7 separate regions of the Homo sapiens genome follow, and regions 1, 2, 4, 5, 6 and 7 are each linked to region 3. Evidence: promoter capture Hi-C in 16 types of primary human blood cells and fetal thymus (Javierre and others, 2016). All regions are on one chromosome and are shown on one strand. The core of a region is centred on a gene start or on the middle of the fragment in contact, and the rest is flanking DNA. Distances in the headings are between cores, read along the strand shown.

Region 1 (3,168 bases), core at 155-2,654, 940 kb before region 3:
ATGTGCAAAAATCACAAGCATTCCTATACACCAATAACGGACAAACAGAGAGCCAAATCATGAGTGAACTCCCATTCACAATTGCTACAAAGAGAATAAAATACCTAGGAATCCAACTTACAAGGGATGTGAAGGACTTCTTCAAGGAGAACTACAAACCACTGCTCAAGGAAATAAGAGAGGACACAAACAAATGGAGAAACATTCCATGCTAATGGATAGGAAGAATCAATATCATGAAAATGGCCATACTGCCCAAAGTAATTTATAGATTTAATGCTAACCTGATCAAGCTACCATTGACTTTTTTCACAGAATTGGAAAAAAGGTACTTAAAATTTCATATGGAACCAAAAAAGAGCCCACATTGCCCAGACAATCCTAAGCAGAAAGAACAAAGCTGGAGGCATCAGGCTATCTGACTTTAAACTATACTACAAGGCTACAGTAACCAAAACAGCATGGTACTGGTACCAAATCAGATATATAGACCAATGGAACAGAACAGAGGCCTCAGAAATAATACCACACATCTCCAACCATCTGATCTTTGACAAACCTGACAAAAACAAGCAATGGGGAAAGGATTCCCTATTTAATAAATGGTGTTGGGAAAACTGGCTAGCCATATGCAGAAAGCTGAAACTGGATCCCTTCCTTACACCTTATACAAAAATTAACTCAAGATGTATTAAAGACTTAAACATAAGACCTAAAACCATAAAAACTCTGAAGAAAACCTAGGCAATACCATTCAGGACACTGGCATGGGCAAAGACTTCATGACTAGAACACCAAAAGCAATGACAAAAAAAGCCAAAATAGACAAATGGTTGAACTACTTTACAGTCCAAAATAGACAAATGGGATCTGATTAAATAATCTATTTCTTTTTTAAAAAAAACTTTTATTTTAGGTTCAGGGGTACGTGTACAGGTTTGTTATGTCACACCGTCACAGGGGTTTGCTGTACAGAGTATTTTGCCACACAGTTACTAAGCCCAGTACCCAATAGTTATCTTTTTCTGCTCCTCTCCTCCTGCCACCCTCCACCCACAAGGAGACCCCAACGTGTGTTGTTCCCTCTTCATGTTCATGAGTTCTCATGATTTAACTCCCACTTTTAAGTCAGAACATGTGGTATTTGTTTTTCTGTTCCTGCATTAGTTTGCTAAGGATAATGGCCTCCAGCTACATCCATGTCCCTGCAAAGGATGTGATCTTGTTCTTTTTTATGGCTGAATAGTATTCCATGGTGTATATGGAATTTTCTTTATCCAATCCAACATCAATGAGTATTAGGTTGATTCCATGTCTTTGCTATTGTGAATAGTGCGGCAATGAACATACATTTGCATGCATCTTTTTTTTTTTTCTTTTTTTTGAGATGGAGTATCTGTCACCCATGCTGGAGTGCAATGGCACAATCTCGGCTCATTGCAACCTCTACCTCCTGGGTTTAAGCAATTCTCCTGCCTCAGCCTCCTGAGTAGCTGGGATTACAGGCACACCTGGCTAATTTTTTTTTTTTTTTTTTTTTGTATTTTTAGTAGAGACGGGGTTTCACTATGTTATTATGCTGGTCTTGAACTCCTGACCTCGTGATCCACCTGCCTCGGCCTCCCAAAGTGCTGGGGTTACAGGCATGAGCCACTGTGCCCAGCCATGTGCATGCATCTTCACGGTAGAATGATTTATATTCCTCTGGGTATGTACCCAGTAATAGGATTGCTGGGTTGAATGGTAGTTCTTTTTATATTTCTTTGAAGAATCACCACACTGCCTTCCACAATGGTTGAACTAATTTACATTCCCACCAACAGTGTATAAGTGTTCCCTTTGCTCCGCAACCTTGCCAGCATCTGTTATTTTTTGACTTTTTTGTTCATCTTTTTTTTTTTTTTGAGACAGAGTCTCACTTTGTCACCCAGTCTAGAGTGCAGCGGCGCAATCTCTGCTCACTGCAAGCTCCGCCTCCCAGGTTCACGCCAGTCTCCTGCCTCAGCCTCCCGAGTAGCTGGGACTACAGGCACCTGCCACTGCGCCCGGCTAATTTTTTGTATTTTTAGTAGAGACGGGGTTTCACTGTGTTAGCCAGGATAGTCTCGATCTCCTGACCTCGTGATCCGCATGCCTCAGCCTCCCAAAGCGCTGGTATTACAGGAGTGAGCCACTGCACCTGGCCGACTTTTTAATTATAGCCATTCTGACTGATATGAGATGGCATTTCATTGTGGTTTTTATTTGCATTTCTCTAATAATCAATGATGTTCAGCTTTCTTTTCATGTGCTTGTTGGCCACATGTATGTTTCCTTTTGAAGAGTGTCTGGTCATGTTCTTTGCCCACTTGTTAATGGGGTTACGTGTATTTTTCTTGTAAATTTGTTTAAGTTTCTTATAGATACTAGATATTAGACCTTTGTCAGATGCAGAGTTTGCAAAATTTTCTTCCATTCTGTAGGTTTTCTGTTCCTTATGTTGATAGTGTCTTTTGCTGTGAAGAAGCTCTTTAGTGTAATTAGATCCCATTTGTCAATGTTTGCATTTGTTGCAATTGCTTTTGGCATGAAATCTTTGCCTGTTCGTATGTTCAGAATGGTATTGCCTAGGTTTTCTTCCAGGGTTTTTATAGTTTTGGGTTTAACATTTAAGTCTTTAATGCATCTTGAGTTGATTTTTACATGTGGTTTAAGGAAGGGGTCTAGTTTTAATCTTCGGCATACGGCTAGCCAGTTATCCCAGCACCATTTATTGAATAGGGTGTCCTTTTCCCATTGCTCGTTTTTGTCAGCTTAGTCAAAGATCAGATGTTTGTGGGTGTACAGCCTTATTTCTGTGTTCCAGTGGTCTATACATTTGTTTTTGTACCAGTACCATGCTGTTCTTTTCTGTTCCATTGGTCTATACATTTGTTTTGTACCAGTACTATCTTCCCTTTTCTGTTCCATTGGTCTATACATTTGTTTTTGTACCAGTACCATGCTGTTTTGATTACTGTTGCCCTGTAGTATAGTTTGAAGTCAGGTAGCATGATGCCTCCAGCTTTGTTCATTTTGCTTAGGATTGCCTTGACTATTTGGGCTCTTTTTTAGTTTCATATGAATTTCAAATTTTTTTTTTTTTTTTTTTTTTTAGTTCTGGAAGAATGTCACTGGCTTTTTGATAGG
Region 2 (3,374 bases), core at 686-3,185, 910 kb before region 3:
GGGGGGAAAAAGTCTAGGATTTGCTGGGTGCTGTGGCTTATGCCTGTAATCCCAGCACTTTGGGAGGCTGAGACAGGAGGATAAAGGTTGAGACCAGCCTGGGCAACACAGTAAGTCCTAGTCTCTAAAAACATTAAAAAATTAGGGGGATGTTGTGGTGCGCACTTGTAGTCCCAACTACTCGGGAGGCTGATGCAAGAGGATGCTTGAGTCCAGGAGTTTGAGGCTGCAGTGAAGCCATGATCATGCCACTTAACTTCCCTGGGGGACAGAGCAAAACCCTGCCTCTAAAAAAAAGTCTACAATCTGAACCAAAGAATAAGTATGTCAATGAATAAGTCTAACCAACCCCACTCATACTGTGTCCTACTCTTTGCTTTACTTCTTGTCTCTATTCCACATATGCCTTGTTCTCAACCAACAGCACTGTCCCCATATTCTGCCTTCCACTTGCCCAATTAGCTTGTGATCTCTAGGGTCTTTGTACTTGCCCCTGTGATTCTTAGTGTTTTATTTTCTCTGGAGGATGGCATAGCCAGGATCATAGGGGTCCTGGTGCCACCCTTCGGGTGTCCAGGGTCTTCCTCCTGCTCTCTGGTGACCCTTCATGGCCATGACTTGCAATGCACACTCCTGTGACACATCTCACCTCTTCTCTTTCTCACCAAAATATTCCTATAAGCTATCCCTTTCTCTAAAGCTCCTGCTAGTAGGCTTGATAATCTAAGATACTCTTTCAGGTCAGGGTGATAATAATTAACTCAATCCTTTTGTGTGCATTACACATTAGAATGCTTGGAGAAATTAAACACTGTTTACCTGAAAACATATTAATGAACTATAATTGGCAAACAATGAAGATGATATTAGTGCATAAAGGGAGGCTTCCGGTTGTCCCCTCATGTCCAACCCTGTGGCTCAGTGGGTTAAAGGCTACCTGGACCCCACTGCATCTTCTCTGCCTAGATGCTTGGTGTTCAGAGACTATACCTTACAGTCTGTTTACATACGTTCCCATTTCACAGGTAAAATAAAATAAAGAAGGGACTATTCTTGGAAGTTTGATTAAGGAAGCTTGATGTAAATTTATTTGACTGATGAGTAAGTAGAGAAAAATGAAAGATACTTCTAATGTATATGTTATAATAGAGAATTGAAGAATTCTGGAATTTTATACCTGATAGGAGAATGAAAGTGCTCTGAAATTTAAATGATTAATAACAGAATAAGAACTTTTTGGCTTTTCAACAGTGTACTTATAAATCATACATTACAGTATAAATTATATTGTATGATAATACTGTATGAATTTCTAACTATGTTACTCATATTTCATGTGATAGTGCTGAAGTTATTGGCAACTTGGATAGTGCACTAATGTTATATATATTTAAAATATAATGTGTATATATATGTATACACATACATATATGAAGATTTGAGGAATTGAAGACAATGTTAAATATACTTTCAATTTGTTCTTTTAAATTTGAATTTTTAAATTCTTACAAATTTCAGGGTAAGAAAAAACTATTATGTCATCATCTCAGTATTAGGAATTCAGATAAAACAAAACATCAACATCCATTTGTTGCCTTGGTTTTTAAATTGGTGAGCACTCTACCATAAAGTTCATGCTTCAAAGATTTTAAGAGATGAGCTTGGATGAGATAAATGTCCTTCATGCTTAATTCTTACACCTAATCTTAAATAGACACTACAACATCACTATTTCACCCACTCATTCCATAAGCATCTGCTAAGAATTTATTATAAACCAGGCATTTTGCTAGGCACTGGAGAACATACACAGTGCAATCAAACATTTCTGCCTTTGGCAGTGACTGTTAGTCCTTACTAATATGTTCTCCTTTTTCAGGGCACACAGATGGATGGCATTTTCCAGTCTCCTTTATCATGTTCTGGCTAGCAGAATGAAGGTGGCTATGTTACATGCCTCCTTCAGAACCACCCTACAAATATATCCTGTGTATGATTCTCTTTCTGTTTCCCATCTGCTGCAGAAATGAATAAGTCTTCAGGGACCAGATGGGCGCAGTGGCTCACGCCTGTAATCCCAGCACTTTGGGAGGCTGAGGTGGGTGAATCACGAGGTCTGGAGTTTGAGACCAGCCTGTCCAATATGGTGAACCCCCGTCTCTATTTAAAATACAAAAATTAGACTGGCGTGGTGGCACACGCCTGTAGTCCCAGCTACTCGGGAGGCTGAAGCAGAAGAATCGCTTAAACCTGGGAGGCAGAGGTTGCAGTGAGCCAAGGTTGTTGAGCCACTGCACTCCAGCCTGGGTGACAGATCGAGACCCCATCTCAAAAAAAAAAAAAAAAAAAAAAGAAAAAGAAAAGAAAAGATAAAAGACTCCAAGGACTTAGAAGAGAGAGGAATCTCAAGAAGAAATGAGCCTGGGTTCCTGAATGATTCTTCCAACCACCATGAACTTACATTGGACTGTGACTTAACAAGACATAAATGTCATTGTGTTAAGCCACTAAGATGCTCTAAATGCTTGTTAAAGCATTTAGTCAACTGTATCAGTCTAGCTCTATGATGAATAACCTTAAACATAGTGACATAAGACTAAAACTAATCTGTGTGTTAGCAATTTAGACAGGGCTCCACAGAAATGGGTCATCTTTTCTCCTCTAGGCACTGGCCAGGCTCACTCATGGGTTTATGGTCAGTTGGCAAGTCATATGGAAGCTGGCTGGTCCCGGATGAAGAATTGGCAGAGCCATGTGTCTCCAGGATGCTAGCCAAGACTTTTTCAAGAAGAAAGGCAAGCTTCTATTCATAAGCATTTTTTTATTGTACTTTAAGTTCATGTGCACAACGTGCAGGTTTGTTACATATGTATACATGTGCCATGTTGCTGTGCTGCGCCCATTAACTCATCATTTACATCAGGTATATCTCCTGATGCTATCCCTTCCCGCTCCCCCAACCCCATGACAGGCCCCAGTGTGTGATGTTTCCCTTCCTGTGTCCAAGTGTTCTCATTGTTCAATTCCCACCTATGAGTGAGAACATGCGGTGTTTGGTTTTTTGTCCTTGGGATAGTTTGCTGAGAATGATGGTTTCCAGCTTCATCCATGTCCCTGCAAAGGACATGAACTCATCCTTTTTTATGGCCGCATAGTATTCCATGGTGTATATGTGCCACATTTTCTTAATCCAGTCTATCATTGATGGACATTTGGGTTGATTCCAAGTCTTTGCTATTGTGAATAGTGCCGCAATAAACATATGTGTGCATGTGTCTTTATAGCAGCATGATTTATAATCCTTTGGGTATATACCCAGTAATGGGATGGCTGGGTCAAATGGTGCTTCTAGTTCTAGATCCTTGAAGAATCGC
Region 3 (3,113 bases), core at 500-2,999:
TATGCAAAGCAGTGAGCTATAGTAGTCAAAAGAGCACAGAATCAAAGTTTTGGCTTCAGTATCTCCTTTAATCAGCCTAGACTTTGAGTAGGTCTGGGCTTTATTTCCTCTCCTGTTAAAGAGGTTCACTTGATGATTTTTACTTCTACAATGCTATGCAGTTCTATAATTCTGTGCCTGAAAATTCAAATGACTTTTAGCCCTAGAAAAGTCAGACTGAAATACTTTTATTCTAGGAATATATAAATATTGATCCTCATTTTATTTACTTAATTCCTTTTTTTTTAGAGACAGGATCTAGCTATGTTACCCAGGCTGGTCTTGAACACCTTGCTTCAAGCGATCCTCCCACCTCAGCCTCCCAAGTAGCTGGGATTACAGGTGTGATCCCATCACCCCACTAAGATCCTCATTTTAAATATTCATTGAGTGATGCAGAGAACAGTCATACCTGCCCTCTAGCTGTCAAAAGTTTTATTTAAGACCCAGCCCGGTGGCTCACACCTGTAATCCCAGCAGTTTGGGAGGCCAAGGCAGGTGGATTGCTTGAGCCCAGGAGTTCGAGACCAGCCTGGAATATGGTGAAACCCTGTCTCTAAAAAAATTCCAAAAAATCAGCCTGGTGTGGCGGCACACACCTGTAGTCCCAGGGGGGCTGAGACAGGAGGATCACCTGAACTGGGAGGCGGAGGTTGCAGTGAGCCGAGATCGTGCTACTGCACTCCAGCCTGCGTAACAGAGCAAGACACTGTCCCAAAAAGCACAAAAATAAGAAAAAAATGTTAAAAGTTCACTTACATATGCTCTTACCATAGAAGATAAGGTCAGGAAAATGGCTTCAAGATTTTGAAGTGAATAACTGGCCCATTCTAAAAAGGTTGACCTCATCTTTCACATCTTTTGTTAATTTTACTAAGTCTATTCATATGTGAAAAAACACTTCAATACTGGATCGTGAACAATATGTAAAACTGCTTTGGTAGCGCAGTTACTGCTACTGAACATTGTTATATATGCTATTCAAAATAGGTGCAATAGTTCTGCATACCGTTTCCTTGACACCTCCCATTGTATCCGAAGTTGTTCTTTAATCGGCACACAAGCACTTGATACTTACTAAATAACGGCAGACACAACGGACTGTAAACTTTGGCAAGGCCTGAGGCTTAAACGCTCAATAAGTAATTTACTGAATGAATAAACAGATGAATAGGTTCAGTTATGAACTAGTTGTCACTTGCCTGCAAGTTAGGTGAGATCTAGGGCGAGACTATTCAACCTGCAACCATCATTACTAACTGAATGTCCTGTTACCTAAAAAAAGATAGAAATAAAGCCCATCTTTAGGGCAGAATTCAACTGCCGGACTTGGGACTGGACGCCACCAAGTGGATAAAATATGGAGCTCGGAAAAGATTGGATTCCCGGCCCTGAACTGACCACACAGTTGAGAGGAAGTTGAGGCCTAGAAGAGCGCGCAACAGTAAGCCGTGTCGGCACCAGACTCTGTTGGTCCTACTGACACCTCCAGCGTTAGAATGACTAAGGCTCCACTCCTGACCCACCGGCCTTGAGGAAAGCGCAAACGTAAAAAAAGATTGAAACCGGAGAGGCGAATGCATCTGTTTACGCTAGGACCACGCTCGACGTCGGAGAAAAGCCCACACACTCACAGTTTCCAGACCTGGCTGCTTGCCGAAACTCAGATTCTCGGCACCTCCAGCAGCTGGCTTCGCCAACGGCGTTGAACAAGGGTCGCAGCTCAATGACGTCATATCTCCCTACCTACCTCCAGGGTTCCGCCTCACGCTCTATGTCGCGCGCGCGCACTACGTCCTATGGCTTGCGCGTGCGGCGGCTGGGCACCGCCATTTTGGCCGGTGGCCGTGAGAACACGCTGTGTGGCTGAAAAGTGAAGGCAAGAGCTGATTTGGCCTCTGTGCTCCCCTCCGCAAGGGGATCGTTTTCTCCAGGTACGTGAATAGCCCGGAGAGGTTTGGCCGTTAGCTGCCATCTGCCAGGTTGGAAAGAATGTAGGGACGTTCTCCGAGAGCCTTTGGTTAGGCCTTAGGTGGCGGAGACAGCAGCAGCGCGTGGCAGCGGTTCCTGCGGGACAGCTGGAACTGATGGAGCGCGGGCGACGCCGAGAGCTTGGGGGCGCCTCGGTCTTCCCCTCCAGCCGACCCGGCTGTCGCCGCTGTTGCCTGCCACACCCGCGAGGGACTTCGAGAATGGACCTAGATGCCGTAGTCTCCACTCCCCCTTTACCCCACTCCCGCCCTGAAGCTAAACCTGCTGGAGAGGAAGGCACCTTTAGAACTTACAGCACTCTCTAGTACCCCCACACTCCTCCAGCACCCAAAATGGATATATTGTCACATGTGCATATTTGGTTGTGGGAAGTCGTGGCTTCCACGTTTTGTTGAGTGGAATGAGTCATGGCATCTTGCCGCCATGAAGTCGAATACTCGCTGTCCACTCCCAGGCTTTATAGAAATGATGCCCACATGTCACTCTGCTTTTCTCAGAACAGCGTGTACGCAGCTATGACTGGGGTTGTCCCAAGTAGTTTCCCAGTAGAAATCCTATAGTTTTTTTGGTACGCTTTTGTAGCACTAGGCACTTTCTCCCCTTACCCGTTTTTCCTTTTATTGTATCTAATACTCATTGAGATCAAGGTTGATGTCTTTACTCAGAATACCTTTATTATCTCTTCAGGGCTTCGTACATTGTAGGCATTTAATACGTATTGTGAATGAATGACAGCCAAAGCCGAATTCCCACCTCCCATTAACTACATAAGCTTATTTTCTCTTTTTTGATGGTAAAAATCTATAAGAGGAAGAACTGTCCAAATAACATGTTTTATTTTTTTACTCTTTCCCAACAGGACTGCTAACTAGTCATTTATGATAGTGGCATTTATGTTGCAGTAGTTTGTCCCATATTCTGAGAATATTCATTGTATACCAGCCACCTGACACTAATACTTTGTTAGTGTAACCAAAGGCTCAGAACCTGTATTTGAACCAAAAGCTGTTTGGGGTTTGTGAGCTTTTTGAGAACTTAGTTCTCCCCTATTTTAAAAAAGGGAGTTTTTTTGTTTGTTTGTT
Region 4 (3,485 bases), core at 794-3,293, 760 kb before region 3:
ATATGTCCACACCTTAATCTCCAGAACGTTTTTATGGCAGATGAAATTTGCAAATGTGACTATATTAAGATGGGGAAATTATCTTGGATAATCTGGGTGGAGCCAATGTAATTGCAATAATCTTTGCAGGAAGGATACAGGCAGAGTCAGTCAGAGGAAAAGTCAGTGTGATGATGGAAGGAGGGACCTGGGTGATGTGCTTTGGAGATGGAAGGAGGAGTCATAAACCAAGGAATACAGGTGGCTTTTAGAAGTTGAAAAAGATGAGGAACAGATTCTCCACTCAGCCTCTAAGTGAAATCAGCCCTGTTGACACCTTGACTTTAGCCCAATAAAACTGATTTTAGACTTCCGACCTCCAGAATTGTAAGATAGTAAGTTTATGCTGTTTTAAGCCACTACATTTGTCATGATTTGTTATAGCAGCAATAGAGAACTAATACACTCATTTCCTATATGAGGCAATATGCTGTCATAGACACTACCTTCAATCTGTCCATGGTGGAACCACTGTTTACCATCTCTTCTACTACCACCTGGTCCTAGTCTTCATTATCTCCATTCTGAATGATTTCAATAGTCTTCTACCTGTTTTTATCCACTCTTCTCTATTATTTTGCCTTGTCCACCTAGTCAGCTACTGCTAGGTTTGGCAGCTTTTTAAGAATCAGGAAAAGGTGCCTCTTCCTCCAGACAGACACAATCCCATGCCAGGGTACATGGTGGGGCAGGCAGAGTCCAGATTGAATGTCACCATATGGAATGCAACCTCCATGATTGTGTGTAACATCGCTGCCCATGGTTCTTTCCAACAGCAGTCTGAATAATGCCTTTAAAATACATGTAAGTCAGATTACCTTGCTGCTGTGCTCCAAACACTCATGTCTCCGCATTTTACTCAGTCTTTACAAGGGGACTTCCAGCCCTTTGTCATCTGGCCCTTGTTACCTCTCATATCTCATCTTTACTCTTCTCCCACTCATTCACCACTTATTAAAATCAGCCTTGGTGCTGTTCTTCAAACATGACAGACATGTCCTCACCTCAGGGTCTTTGCTCTTGCTCTTTCTTCAGGCCACAGTGATTTGTCTACAATATCCAAATGGGTGTCTCACCCCCTTCAAGTATTTGGTCAAATGTCCCTTTCTCAGTGACACCTACTCTATTTTGTTAATATTGGCAACCCACACCTCTACCTCCACACTTCCCAATCCCTTTATTTTGCCTCAGTTTCTCCTATAACACATAATCCTCTGACATTTTATATATAAATTATTATATTTGTTATAAGCTCTGAGAAGGTAGGGGTGTTTGATTTATTCACTCCTGTATCATCAAATAATATGTAATATTTAGTACATGCCCAATATTTGAATGAATGAATGAAAAAATTCTTTTTTATCTCAATTTGGGCTTTCCTAGAAGTGGACCCTAACCCAGTGATCCAGGTGCATGTAATTTATTTGGAAGGTGACCCCAGTAAACACTGCTAGGAGAATGGGGAAGCAAGACATGAAGCGAAGGCAGGCTATGAAGAGAGTTTTCAAACCCTCATGCTCAAGCCCACCGGGGGTCCCTGGGAGCCAGTGAAGATTACAAGCCTCAGAGCTGTCGCCCCGAGAGGCTAAAGAGTCTGGATTTTTATCCGACAAGTACTGAGAGGGACATTTATTTTCTGGCCCTGCCTTTCTGCCATGCGCACAGGGCATAACAGACTCCATCCTCCAAAGTCTTCAGTGAAAGAGATCACTGCCAGCAGCAGAAGTCAAGCCAGTTCCCATGGAACTGTGAGGCCCAAAGGCACACGCATGGGACATCAAAAGCATCTGGTATGCTTCCCCGCCAGGAATAAGAGGAAGAACCTCTATGTGCCACATAAGTAAAGTTACGAATAGGGCAACTTGATAATACTATAATGTTCGTGTTGTAACACCCATCTTATCTGTTGGAGGATGAAGATGGGGAGTCGACAGAGGAGATGAGGGCACTTAGTGGCTGTCCTGTGAGACTCAAGAAGGGAACAGCTTCTTTCCAAGAACTGATGAGAAGCCTGAACCAGGACCCAGTAGAAGAAAAGGAACCCCTTGAGTTGCTGTTTGGCTGTTTATAGACAGCGTCCAAGTTGGTCAGTGCCGCTGACAATAGGTACTGCTAAATATTTTGAATATTAACCCTTAGAAGTGGCCTATTCACTAAAACAGACCTGGAATATCAAAGGGTCACCAAAGCACCGAGGAAGCCCTGGGGCAGACATGGGGATCTGGAATGCAATAAGAAGCATCAAAGAGCAGGGAGTAATGGGTTGAGGGGATGAGAGGGCGGGTGGTCTGGGTAAATGCCTAAGATGAGAACAGTTCTCTTTAGATGCTTTTATGTTTTTCCGTAGCATGATGTGTTGATAGATCAGATAGTTTAGGGGGCCTGGGAAAGGGTACATATGTAAGATACCTTATAGGCAGGACAGCCTTACCATGAATTCTCTTTGATCTTTTAATCCACCAGAGTCAGGTGCATTCAGAATCCACAAAGAGAAATCTTCCCTAGTGACTATGATGATGCAAGTTCCATCTACAACAGGTTGCCAAAGATCCCTGCCTATTTCCTATTTAGGAGTTGTGGGTGCCTCAGGGGTCATATTGTACTTTTGTCTGACCCCCCCAAAAGCATCTCTTTGCAATGTAAAGAGAGAGTCAGAATTCTCCCCTTCCCCACCCAATTCTGCCAGAATGTGTTTAGGCCTGATGTTATTTTTCCTCTAAGCCTATCCTCATTTTTCTTAGGTGCTTGGCTGAAAGCATGGGCTAAATTGGATGACTGATAATGACAGTTAATGCTGTGGTAACTGAACATAAAGAAAAGAAGTAAAAAAGAAACAAGTGAGTAATGAGAAACAGATTATTTGAGTCCTGCAATGAGACCTCTAATACAATGGTGGAAGTTAGAGTTGAGGAAGTCCAAGGTGGAAATAATGAACTCCAGGATAAAGCGCTGTCACGAGGCATGCCTTATTGTTCCAGATAAGTTAAAACAGCTTCCAATGGTATAAAACATCACTTTGAATTCTCGTCAAAGCAGGGAAACCATGGTCTCAGGGTGAATGTTCCAATGGCAGCCTGACCAGCGTCACTTCACAACCATGACCACGTCTAAAACTGAAAGATGACTTTAGCCGCTGTTCCCACAAAGTGGTTTCAACACGATGACAGTGTGATGCAGAAAACCTAGAGCTAAAAAACTGAATGTATATTCTCTTTAGAGTAAAAGGAAATGACTACAAGCCTGGTAATAAATGTGGCAGCTTACTAGAAAGGCAGGTTTAAAGAATAAGGAAATTCATGTTAGAGCTTAAATTGAAAACAGGTGCCAAGCCTATTTCATGGATCCATAGAATGTCAGAACTGGAGGAGACCCAGAAGTGACTCATCCAATTCCCACATTTGATGTATCAGGAAACTCAGGTCACAAGAAGTGAAGTGACTTGTTCA
Region 5 (3,221 bases), core at 12-2,511, 920 kb before region 3:
GTTTCACCACATTGGCCAGGCTGGTCTTGAACTCCTAACCGCAGGTCATCAGCCAGCCTCGGCCTTCCAAAGTGCCGGGATTACAGGAGTGAGCCACCAGGCCCGGCCAATACCTGCACTCTTCTGTTTATTCCAGCACTATTCGCAATAGCCAACATATGGAATCAACCTAAATAAGTGTCCATCAACAAATGAATAAATGAAGAGAATGTGGTGTATAAAGAGTGGAATACTGTTCAACCATTAAAAGAATGAAATTTGGTCCTTCGTGGCAACACGGATGAGCCTGAAGGACGTTACGTTAAATGAAATAAGCCAGGCACGGAAAGACAAATACCACATGAGCTCAATCATATGTGGAAGCTAAAAAAGTTGATATCATGTAAGTAGAGAGTAGAACCGTGGTTACAAAGTCTGGGAAGAGTAGGGGGAAGAGGGGCTAGGGGAGATTGGTTAAGGGATACAAAATTATAGCTAGATAGGAGGAATGTGTTCTAATGGTCTATAGCACTGTAGTGTGGACCAGAGTTAACAACAATTTATTGTATATTTTCAAATAGCTAGAAGAGAGGATTTTGAGTATTCTCAACACAAAGAAATGATAAATGTTTGAGGTGACTGTCTTGCTCATTACCCTGATTTGATCATTACACATTGTACACATGTATGAAAATATCACATTGCACTCCACAAATATGTACACTTATTATGTGGCAATTAAAAATAATAACCAATAAATAAATAATGAGTAGAAAAATTAGAAAACGAATATGTAATATCTAACTCTGTAGAGCCCTCTATTTTAGAAAAGAAACTTGGTAGATTTGTTCTAAGATTTGATCGCTAGAGGTCACCAAAGTCACAGAAATTATCAGTATTTTTTTCTTTCCGTTTTTGAGTCACAGGCGGATGTCTCTGGCCTCTCCCATTATGCAGTGCATTTACTGGAAGACCTTTTGCTGCTTAGTCTTAAGGAGAGTAAACTGTTTGGACTAGTTTTTTCTAATATTAAATATTCCAGGAAACAGACAGCCATCTATCTATGGGACTATTCAAAACAGATGGGTGTTTCTAGAGAATGTGATTTATTTCCTTCTCTGATACCAAAGGGCCTATTGGTTGATACCTGCTGAATGTGAGTTCTGAGTAATGTTGTTGAGACAGAACCACAGAACACCCAGCAGCAGCACACACCGTTTCAAGTGAAACAGCATGGACCATTTCAAGGAAAAAACATTGTGCCTTTACTGGTAACATGTCTGGTGTAGGAGGGCTCCAATGAAGCAGAACATTCAAGAACACCCATTGCATCTTTTAAATAACAGACCACACTACCTTTTGCATGTTAATAATTCTCCATTTTTTTTTATTGAACTCAACATTAGCCTAAATCCCCAGACCCTAAATTTGTGGAGATTCAAAAACAAACAAGATTGGAATCCTGAAAAGACTCAATGAAACTGTCTCAATTTAAGAGATGCTTCTAGCAGAGATAGAAAGATATAATAGCTAATTTCAGTTTTTTTAGCATGCTCACATTTTAGGGAGGCATAATTCATATTAAAACTTTCTAATTCTGTAATTAGACAAGATGTAGCCTGTAGAAGATGAATATTTGTCAGGAGTTAAATGCAGCTAACAAAGATGCAACAGGCAAGAAGCCTTTCACATTTTCAAGGTTTCATTTACCAATAGCTACATTATTTCCCTGGTTATGTAGATAAGTTTGTGTTTAAATGGTCTCCTGCAGAAACTAAGTAAACCATTTTTTTTCCCATAAGACCTCACAGTGCTTAGATACCTGACAAATCCAAAGTTAAGGCTTTGGTACAAGCCATAACCTAAAAGACTCAAGCCAATATCAACGTGACACATTTTGCATTTAGGCTTGTTCTTTATTCAGTGGACTTCATTTGACTTTGATCTTGGTTAACTTTGAAGTATGCAAGGTTCCCACTTTCCATAAGGGTTTTTTTTTTTTTTCCAGTTAAATCAGACAGGCAGGCAAAGGAAATCTAAACCTTGAAAGAAGTGAAAACAACTAGACACAGTCAGTGATATATTTTCACTACTTTGTTTAAAACAGCACATTGCCATACTTAAAACACTTCACATCAATGAGTTATTTATTAAGTTTTAAATATAAGTCACATTTTCCACTGTATCTTAGGAGACACATTTGAAAACATGTTGGGAATCTGTTGTATGATTTGTGTGAAAAGTTTAGTTAAATGCAAAACTACAGATTGTAGTTAATGATGTACTATTACCATGAAATAGCCATTAACTTAAAGGAAATATTTATATAGGAATTACAATATATGACATTTTATATCTGAAAGCTGGATCTCTTATGGAATTTTATAGACTATGGATTTCAAAATCTACTAGAAACTAGGATTCACATATGTATTTATAAAATGATCCAGACCCACATCTCAAACATTCATTAATTTTGTTTCACCCTTATCATGTTTTAGATTTATGGAGCTATTTCTTATCATGAAGTGAACTTCACTTAATAATGAAGTACATATACACATGCACACACATAAACGTGCATGGGTGTGTACAAATTTATTATTTGGAACAAAAATAGAATCATATATGTATCATTATAAAATGTGTCGTAAAGGATATTAAGAGAAAAAACTTCTTTTTTGAGAGATTTAAAAATTCAACCCAGCCAGGTATCATTTCTCTCTTTCATGATACCTCACTTACCCTAGTTATTCTCTTCTCTTAAGTCTGCAAACTGGAACTTCCCTCTATTAAAGAAAGTAGTAAATTTGTGTTATGTCAGATTAACAGCAGGGGGTCCTGAAGTCAGTACACGTTACTATTTCAGCCCTATTCTAGAAAGAAGCAAAAATTTGAATTACATTTCAAGTCATCTAGAAGGGCTAAATTCTCTTTGGAGTAAGTCTGACCCTGTCAAATTACAAATCTAATATTGTTTTTGGACATACAGTCTGACCAGTGACTCATGTAAGAACTGTTACAGTTGAGTTACCAACTGTGGTCTTACAAACCATTTTGGAGTAGAATAAAAACTCTCCATGGATCTGGAGACAACATGTCTCATTCCTGCACCAGCTCTTTATCTTCCTATGGACATCTGGAAGAAAGCCCCCAAAATATTTACTTGTATATTTCTCTATAATTATATATATATATGTATAAAATTAAGAAGTTGAGGAAATAAACTTTAAAGAAGAGGA
Region 6 (3,245 bases), core at 498-2,997, 850 kb after region 3:
CAGGGCAGGGAAGGGGTGCAGAGAAGGAGTAATGATCAGGTAGAGTCAGTCTCCCAAAGGAAAGCCTTGGTGCCACAGGATCTAGGACCATCTCAGGTCCATGCTCTGAACAAATTTAAGGTGACGTAAGCAAAACTGATGAGTGGGCAACACTGATCTCCAAGACCCCTTCCTTGATGTTTCCTCGATCCTTTCTCCTGTCTCCACTTCTGGAATGTTTGATGCCATTTGCTCTCTCAGCAGTACCGGTCCTTTTAGCAACCAGAAATACCACTGTGTTGTCCCACTTAAACCTCTCCTGATAGATGGTCCCATAATCTTTCTTTATTCAAAATATAACTGTTCTTTTTTTTTCCTTTCCATTTCCCGAGGCTTCCTCATGCTTTTTTTCTACCAAAATGATAGCTAACAGGATAACGAGAGTTCATTTTTTTCTATTTTCCAAGTTTTTAACAGTGAAACATATATTATTACTATAATTTAAAACTTTTTTGAACCGCAACAAAAGTAAGTTAGCTACTCAATGCCAATGTCTTCAGTGATACAAATAGCATATCCTCTTTTACCAACAGGGATACCTTTGAAATACCCAGAAAGTAAAAGATGTCATAGAATAAATATGGCCATCTTTCTGGAATGCTCCTTTTGCTGATACGTTTGTTGAAAGTTAAGCAATTTAACTTTGAAATAATTTAAAATGTACTTTTATTAAGATATGTATGGAGATACCATGTACTCTGGTTTTTCTCATTAAAGATGAGGACAATGACAATATTGTACTTCCCTTACATGAGGTTGCTGTGGGGTCTAACTGAATCTAAGCACTGTAGCTGGTATATGCTGCTGCTCCTGACGGCATGGGATATGCCATGAGGTCCAAACTCTGCATGAACTTTAAGTCAAAATGCAAGGTTTCAAAGAAATTTTGCCCAGAACCTTCTTCAGGCTCTATCCCCAGATTCCCAGGGGAAACATTTTCATTTGCTTTGGCTGCTAGAGGAAAAATCTGAATATATTACCTCTGCTTTCTGGATTCCCCATGCTTTATCCCACAGCAGTAACTTTCACAGCAGGAATTTTAGGCATTGTGGCATTCATTCAGTTATAAATTTCAGTTATAAAACATTTATTGAGGTTTTCGTGATTTGATTTTTTAAACCCACCTGTTCTCCTTCTCCTTCTCCTTCCCCTATTGTTGTTCCTGAAACAAAATAAATGACCCAGAATTATCTGGCATTCATCTGACATAAATCATAACCCACACTGGATTACTTTCAACTCTACATTATAGTCCTATGGAAAACTATAGTTCTGAATGAGGACTACTTCTTCCCTTTCAACACTTCTTTATCACTGTCCAAAAAAACCAGATAGGCAAGGAAAACTAAAAATTGAAAGAAAGAAGGAAAGAGAAAGAAGAAAAAAGAAAGCTGGAATAATAGTATCAAAAACTAAATTTACTTTATAAACTAGCACTTTCTCTGAATTCAGAAAATGATTTTTATACCAAACGAAACAAAACAAGCCCACATACACAAATTTTGATAATGTTTAACCCAATCTTGGGTTCAAGTCTTACCCTTGAAAGAACTAAAGTCACAAAACAGGTCTTGTTGTCTTGATGTGCTTTGAATGAATGGTTTTAATCACACACTATTTTAAGTACCTGTGTCATCCTGTTACTGATTTGGATGACTGCTTTCAGTCCACCACAAAATATACTCAAAACTTATTAAAAACAACAAACAATAATATTTCTGTACTCAGAGTAATGGCTAATGTTATCATACAACCTAGGCTTTGAGTATACTGTGTGAGAAAATATCCACGGCCCTTGCTCTTATGGAACAAATATCATAATGGCAAGTGATGACCATTTTTGTAAAAGGCTCTAAGGGTAACGACTTAGACTTTACTGGTTACTTTTGTTTAAAAATTAACAAAACAAAGTAATTAAATATATGAATATTGGAAAAATGATTAATGTGGTAATATTCTCCTGTTTCAGATGCTTTGGTCAAAGGGCTTGTATCTTATGGAAAGCTCCTAAGGTACATAAGTCACCGACATCTACCACTTGTTTATAATTGGGTAGCTTGTTTAAATGCACAGCCGGGCTGGGGCAGCAGGTCACACACTGTTGAGCAGGACAGTGAGGAGGGAACCTCCTGTTTCTCATTCCAGGGATTGTAAGCCCATTGTTGCTGTGTTTTCCCATCTTATAGGAGAAGCGGGATATCTAAATTTTATCGAGAAATCTCCAAGTTTTGGGACATATATACTCAACAAAATGTATCTGCAGGTCAGATCTGTTGATCATCAGTTTGTGATGATCATGTGTTATACACATGTAACTCCCAACCAACCATTGCAATTCATGCGTTATCTTATATGCATCAGACCAGAAAATAGACAAAATAATAAGGTCCTCAAATACCACTGTGTCACATATTCACAGACTCTCAATTTTGGAACTAGACTTGCATTTATCTAGACTAACTTCTGATATGATCATACTTAGTAATGAGGCAGACTCTAATTGGACAGATCGTATTGTGAGATCATTGTTTCTTAAGAGTCAGTCAAAATCTAGCATTTCCCTTTATACCCGTTAGATGGCCACTATCTGAAAAATTAAGAGCATGAAATAACAAGTGTTGCTGAAGATGTGGAAAAGTCGGAATCCTTGTGCATTGCTGCTGTGAATATAAAATGGTACAGCCACCGTGGCTTCTTAAAAAATTACATATAGAATGGCCATGTAATCCAGCAATTCTACTTCAGAGTATATATCCAAAAGAGTTGAAAGTAGGGATTCAAACATATTTGTTTATCTATGTTCATAGCAGCATTATTCACAGTATCTAAAAGGTGGAAACAAACCAAATGCCCACTGACTGACAGATACATGAGCAAACAGAATGTGGTGTATACATAACTGCAATATTATTCAGCCTTAAAAGGAGGGAAATCTTGTCCCATGCTATGACATGGGTTAGCTTTGAAGACATTATGCTAAGTGAAAGAAGCCAGACATGAAAGGACAAATACCGTATGATTCTACTCATATGAGATACTTAGAGTAGTCAAATTCATAAAGATGGAAAGTAGAATGGTGGTTGCCAGGGGCTGGGAAAGGGGGTAAATTGAGAGTTATTGTTTAATGGGTATGGAGCTTCCATTCGGGGAGATGAAAAAGTTCTGGAGATAGTTGGTGTACCTCAGTGTGAATGTACTTAATGCCA
Region 7 (3,425 bases), core at 114-2,613, 830 kb after region 3:
TTTGTTTCCTCCCAAATACAGCTGTGTTTCATGCTCTAGAGAGGACTGTTGGGTTAACAAGTACGGCCAAACAAGTGCAGATTAGAAAACGCCGCCTAATTCTAGGCCATTACGCAAAGGCAGTGCTCTCCATATGGAGCACATAATTCAGGCCTCAGACAGTGTCACTGCATGTGACTCCGTTCTACTATTCTCTGCTTAGTCCCTGCTCTCAAGGAGCTCAGAGACAAGTGAGCAGAGAAAGAGATGGAAACAAATAATTAAAATTCAGCTTGAAAAGTATTTTCATAAACTTATGAAGTGCTGATCAGAAAACAGAGAGTAGGACCAATAGGGTAGAAGTTAGAAGGAAGATACATTTGATTTGATAAGACTGAGATGAACTCAGATCTTAAGTCTTTGAGGAGGGAAATACTATTGGCAGCAGAGGTTTTCATGAATCATGGGGCCATCACGTTCCATCAACACCTAAGGGGTTCTCCTGTAGTGGAGAGGCTCTAAGCAATTTATAGTGGCCAAAACCATCTCCTTCAGGCTGTGAGATCCCATGTAGATTTCACAGACCTACAGCTGCACTGTGTCTCAAGAGACCATCAAATGGTCCAGCCCTTGGTAGTGCTGACACTGGTGACTACAAGCTAATTTCTTCCTTTCTCTGGGTCTGTGTCCACTTCTGTCCAATCAGTGGGAGAAGCAGCCCTTCCCTGCCCACCTCACAGGCAGATGATAAAGTGCTTCATGAAGAATAAAGCATAATACAAACAGAAGGTTTGAGTAATGTACTGTTTTCCGTTTTACATGATGGAGCTACTTAAGCACAGAGATGGTTAAGTGACTTGCCCAAGGTCACAAAGCCAGTGAAAAACCTTGGTGATGGGAGAGTTTAAGGGAGAAGACTGCAGTCTGTGTCTCCTGCCTACTGTAGATTCCTTCCATCAGTCTCTCTGGTTTCCAACCTCGAGGAGTTGCAGTCCATTACCCAGGTCCACGAGCTAATTTTAGGGTTTTAAGAGCCTGAAAAAATACCATCAATAAGCTGACCAGGCTCACCATCTCCTGTCTTTATTTTTGACTGAAATGATAACATCCCAGAGTGGGAGTTCTGGTTAGTTCAGGGGTCCTCAACTCGGGATTAAGCAAATGAATCACATCACCCAGGGAGCTTTTAAAAAACGTTCATGCTCAAGCTCCACTCTGGGTCAATTCAACTTAAATCTCTGGGGGTGTTTGTATTTTTTAAAAATCTCCCAGGTGATTCTAATACATCTGGTTGAGAACCACTGGGTTGGCTGATGGTGATCAGAAACTGACGGACAGCAATAGTTTTCCTTGACTAATTACATAATACAGTTCAAGCAATCCTCAGTTGACATGAATTCACACCTCAAGTGTGTTAATATGGCCAGCATTTACTGTGCACATACCCTATGCCAGACACAAATCTAAAATATCTACGTGTATAGGCTGACTTAGTCTCAGAGAACCTACAATGGTCTCCCACTTCACAAATGAGAAAAACAGGCAGATAACTGCAGTAACTCGCTTGTGTCACGGCTGCAATGTGGTGCTGCTAGGATAGGGATTACTATACGGCTTCTTGATACTGCCATCAAATGTGCTATACAACACCTGAGAGTCAGTGATGAATGGAAAGATCAAAGAATGCTGGGGAATGCAGAACAGTTTCTAATCCAAACGCCTACAGGGATCAGGAGGTAAGATACCTGAGGGAGGTGGGCAGGTGTATATGCATATGGGGACATGGTGGCCGAGTGGCAGGAACTGTGGCAGACTGACGAGCACATGCCTGGGGAATGGAGACAGCCGCCACCGACTACAGCAGATTGCTGCCATGTGGGGAGGTGGGCCCAGTGCGAGTGACTCTTCCAAGTTTTCAAAGGAAGCTGGAAATTTGGATTTTTATATGAAACCTCCGATTTCCAAAATGTTGTCTCAAGTTTTTAAACAGTATCTGTGTGGGGCAAAACACATTACTATGGCACCAGCTTGTAACCTACGATATGATCTCTCTTTCCCACTGTGCTCACATATACACAACCCCATCCTTCATTTAAGATTCATTGCATGTATTCTCTTGATTTGGTTCTCTGTGATTAGAAACAGCAGACCCTGCCTTTCCTTCTTTCTGTGTAAATAAACTATTACCTATGTAACATATGGAACACCTAATATAAATTTCGTCTGTGTTACTCTAACCAGTGGGCTGCCTGTTGAACAGAAGAATAAATAAATATTTATGGAATACCTATTCTCTAATTTGAGTCTCACTCTAAGTGTCTAAAGGAGGATTTAGTATCCTCACTTTATAGTAAAATCTGGTTATAATGCATATGATTATTACACAACTTAGATATAATTCAGGTCAAATCATATAAACAGAGAAACTCATTCCTGTAGTAAAAGCCTAATATAATATTGTTGGCCTATGAAACAAGTATTAGTCAAGCCCTACAATAATAGCCTTGTAAAAGAATTTTACCATATCATATTATTATTACTCACCACACTAATGAGATATATTGAGAAAAAAAAACCATAGAAACCACCAAAAAGTTCCAGGTCAGAAATACCTGTAATCTATTCACAATCTAAACAAACTGAAACACCTTTCACATACTTAATAATAAGTAATATTTATTAAGTCCTTTCTATGCAGCAGGCACTAATTAGGCATGATTTTGTGTATATGTATAATATTTACATTTGTATATGTATTCAATTATTCCTTCTAATAGCTCTGTGATACAGAAACTATTACCACTATTTAAAGATGAGTAAAGTGGAGGACAGGGAAGATAAGCAATTTGCCCAAGGTCACACAGCTAGTCAGTGGCAAAGCTGGGCTCTGAACAGCCTGGCCCCAGAGTTTGTACGTTTGACTGCTGCCCTACGAACTTTGAAAGCACATGAATCCTGTTTCTACTTTAGTTGTGCCATACACAGTAGACAAAGTTAAAGAGGGCACAGTCACAGATGATACTTTCTCCCTCTCATTACAAAACAACAACAAAAGCTTTTTAAAATACAGCACCAGACCACCTAAGATACTAGCACTATGTAACCTTAGAAACATCTATCACCCTCCACAAGCACAGTAGCTTGTTTCAAAAGCTCAGATAAGCAGAGTGCTACTGATCAATCATGTAAAAGATCATTTTTTCCTGGCCTTCTTCAGTCTCCTTTGAAGGCCAGCTTCTTCAGCACACTCAAAACATTTCACCCTGAGATCCACATCTCTCTCTCACCCCTTTTCTTTTTCCCTTCACATCACAATTCTAATGGGGTCTAACCACTTTTCCGACCCATGTAGAAATGACCAAAGAGAAAGAGATAGAGAGACAGGTTATTTTAGGGTTTGCTTTTTCAGGCCCTGGCCTCCAAGAAGGTCCATGCATTTCTTCCTT

The links. Contacts are between HindIII fragments. The CHiCAGO score rates a contact against its expected background, and 5 or more counts as called.
Region 1: a fragment that was not itself captured here is called in contact with the fragment with the promoter of ANAPC10 in region 3 in 1 of 17 cell types (megakaryocytes); the score reaches 5.9 in megakaryocytes.
Region 2: a fragment that was not itself captured here is called in contact with the fragment with the promoter of ANAPC10 in region 3 in 4 of 17 cell types (naive B cells, M2 macrophages, fetal thymus and 1 more); the score reaches 7.2 in naive B cells.
Region 4: a fragment that was not itself captured here is called in contact with the fragment with the promoter of ANAPC10 in region 3 in 2 of 17 cell types (M1 macrophages and M0 macrophages); the score reaches 6.8 in M1 macrophages.
Region 5: a contact is called between a fragment that was not itself captured here and the fragment with the promoter of ANAPC10 in region 3, in 14 of 17 cell types (megakaryocytes, erythroblasts, naive CD8 T cells and 11 more). The highest score is 16.2, in megakaryocytes.
Region 6: a contact is called between a fragment that was not itself captured here and the fragment with the promoter of ANAPC10 in region 3, in 1 of 17 cell types (activated CD4 T cells). The highest score is 7.5, in activated CD4 T cells.
Region 7: a contact is called between a fragment that was not itself captured here and the fragment with the promoter of ANAPC10 in region 3, in 5 of 17 cell types (total CD8 T cells, activated CD4 T cells, naive CD4 T cells and 2 more). The highest score is 9.7, in total CD8 T cells.

What each region holds. Positions count from the first base shown.
Region 1 is chr4:144,157,185-144,160,352 of GRCh38, forward strand. All of the region lies in intron 9 of LOC105377460 (a long non-coding RNA gene), which reads left to right. Among named protein-coding and RNA genes, the nearest start is that of GYPA, 18 kb to the left of the region's middle. The HindIII fragment of the contact is 5,750 bases long and covers 1-3,168 here.
Region 2 is chr4:144,190,555-144,193,928 of GRCh38, forward strand. No RefSeq gene overlaps it. Among named protein-coding and RNA genes, the nearest start is that of GYPA, 52 kb to the left of the region's middle. The HindIII fragment of the contact is 1,726 bases long and covers 1,073-2,798 here.
Region 3 is chr4:145,096,447-145,099,559 of GRCh38, forward strand. ANAPC10 (anaphase promoting complex subunit 10) reads right to left here and starts at 1,750. Exons shown (of 5, transcript NM_001256706.2): 1 at 1,674-1,750. It overlaps ABCE1 (ATP binding cassette subfamily E member 1), which reads left to right and starts at 1,865. Exons shown (of 18, transcript NM_002940.3): 1 at 1,865-1,973. RefSeq lists enhancers at 1,005-1,876, 1,124-2,323, 1,457-1,506, 1,587-1,846, 1,877-2,748 and 1 more. The HindIII fragment of the contact is 4,584 bases long and covers 1-2,801 here.
Region 4 is chr4:144,340,208-144,343,692 of GRCh38, forward strand. All of the region lies in intron 2 of LOC105377462 (a long non-coding RNA gene), which reads right to left. Among named protein-coding and RNA genes, the nearest start is that of GYPA, 200 kb to the left of the region's middle. The HindIII fragment of the contact is 7,813 bases long and covers 1-3,485 here.
Region 5 is chr4:144,173,716-144,176,936 of GRCh38, forward strand. The region is part of intron 9 of LOC105377460 (a long non-coding RNA gene); the gene reads left to right. Among named protein-coding and RNA genes, the nearest start is that of GYPA, 35 kb to the left of the region's middle. The HindIII fragment of the contact is 6,811 bases long and covers 1-3,221 here.
Region 6 is chr4:145,947,711-145,950,955 of GRCh38, forward strand. No RefSeq gene overlaps it. Among named protein-coding and RNA genes, the nearest start is that of ZNF827, 11 kb to the left of the region's middle. The HindIII fragment of the contact is 6,241 bases long and covers 1-3,245 here.
Region 7 is chr4:145,927,108-145,930,532 of GRCh38, forward strand. All of the region lies in intron 1 of ZNF827 (zinc finger protein 827), which reads right to left. Among named protein-coding and RNA genes, the nearest start is that of ZNF827, 10 kb to the right of the region's middle. The HindIII fragment of the contact is 3,337 bases long and covers 1-3,032 here.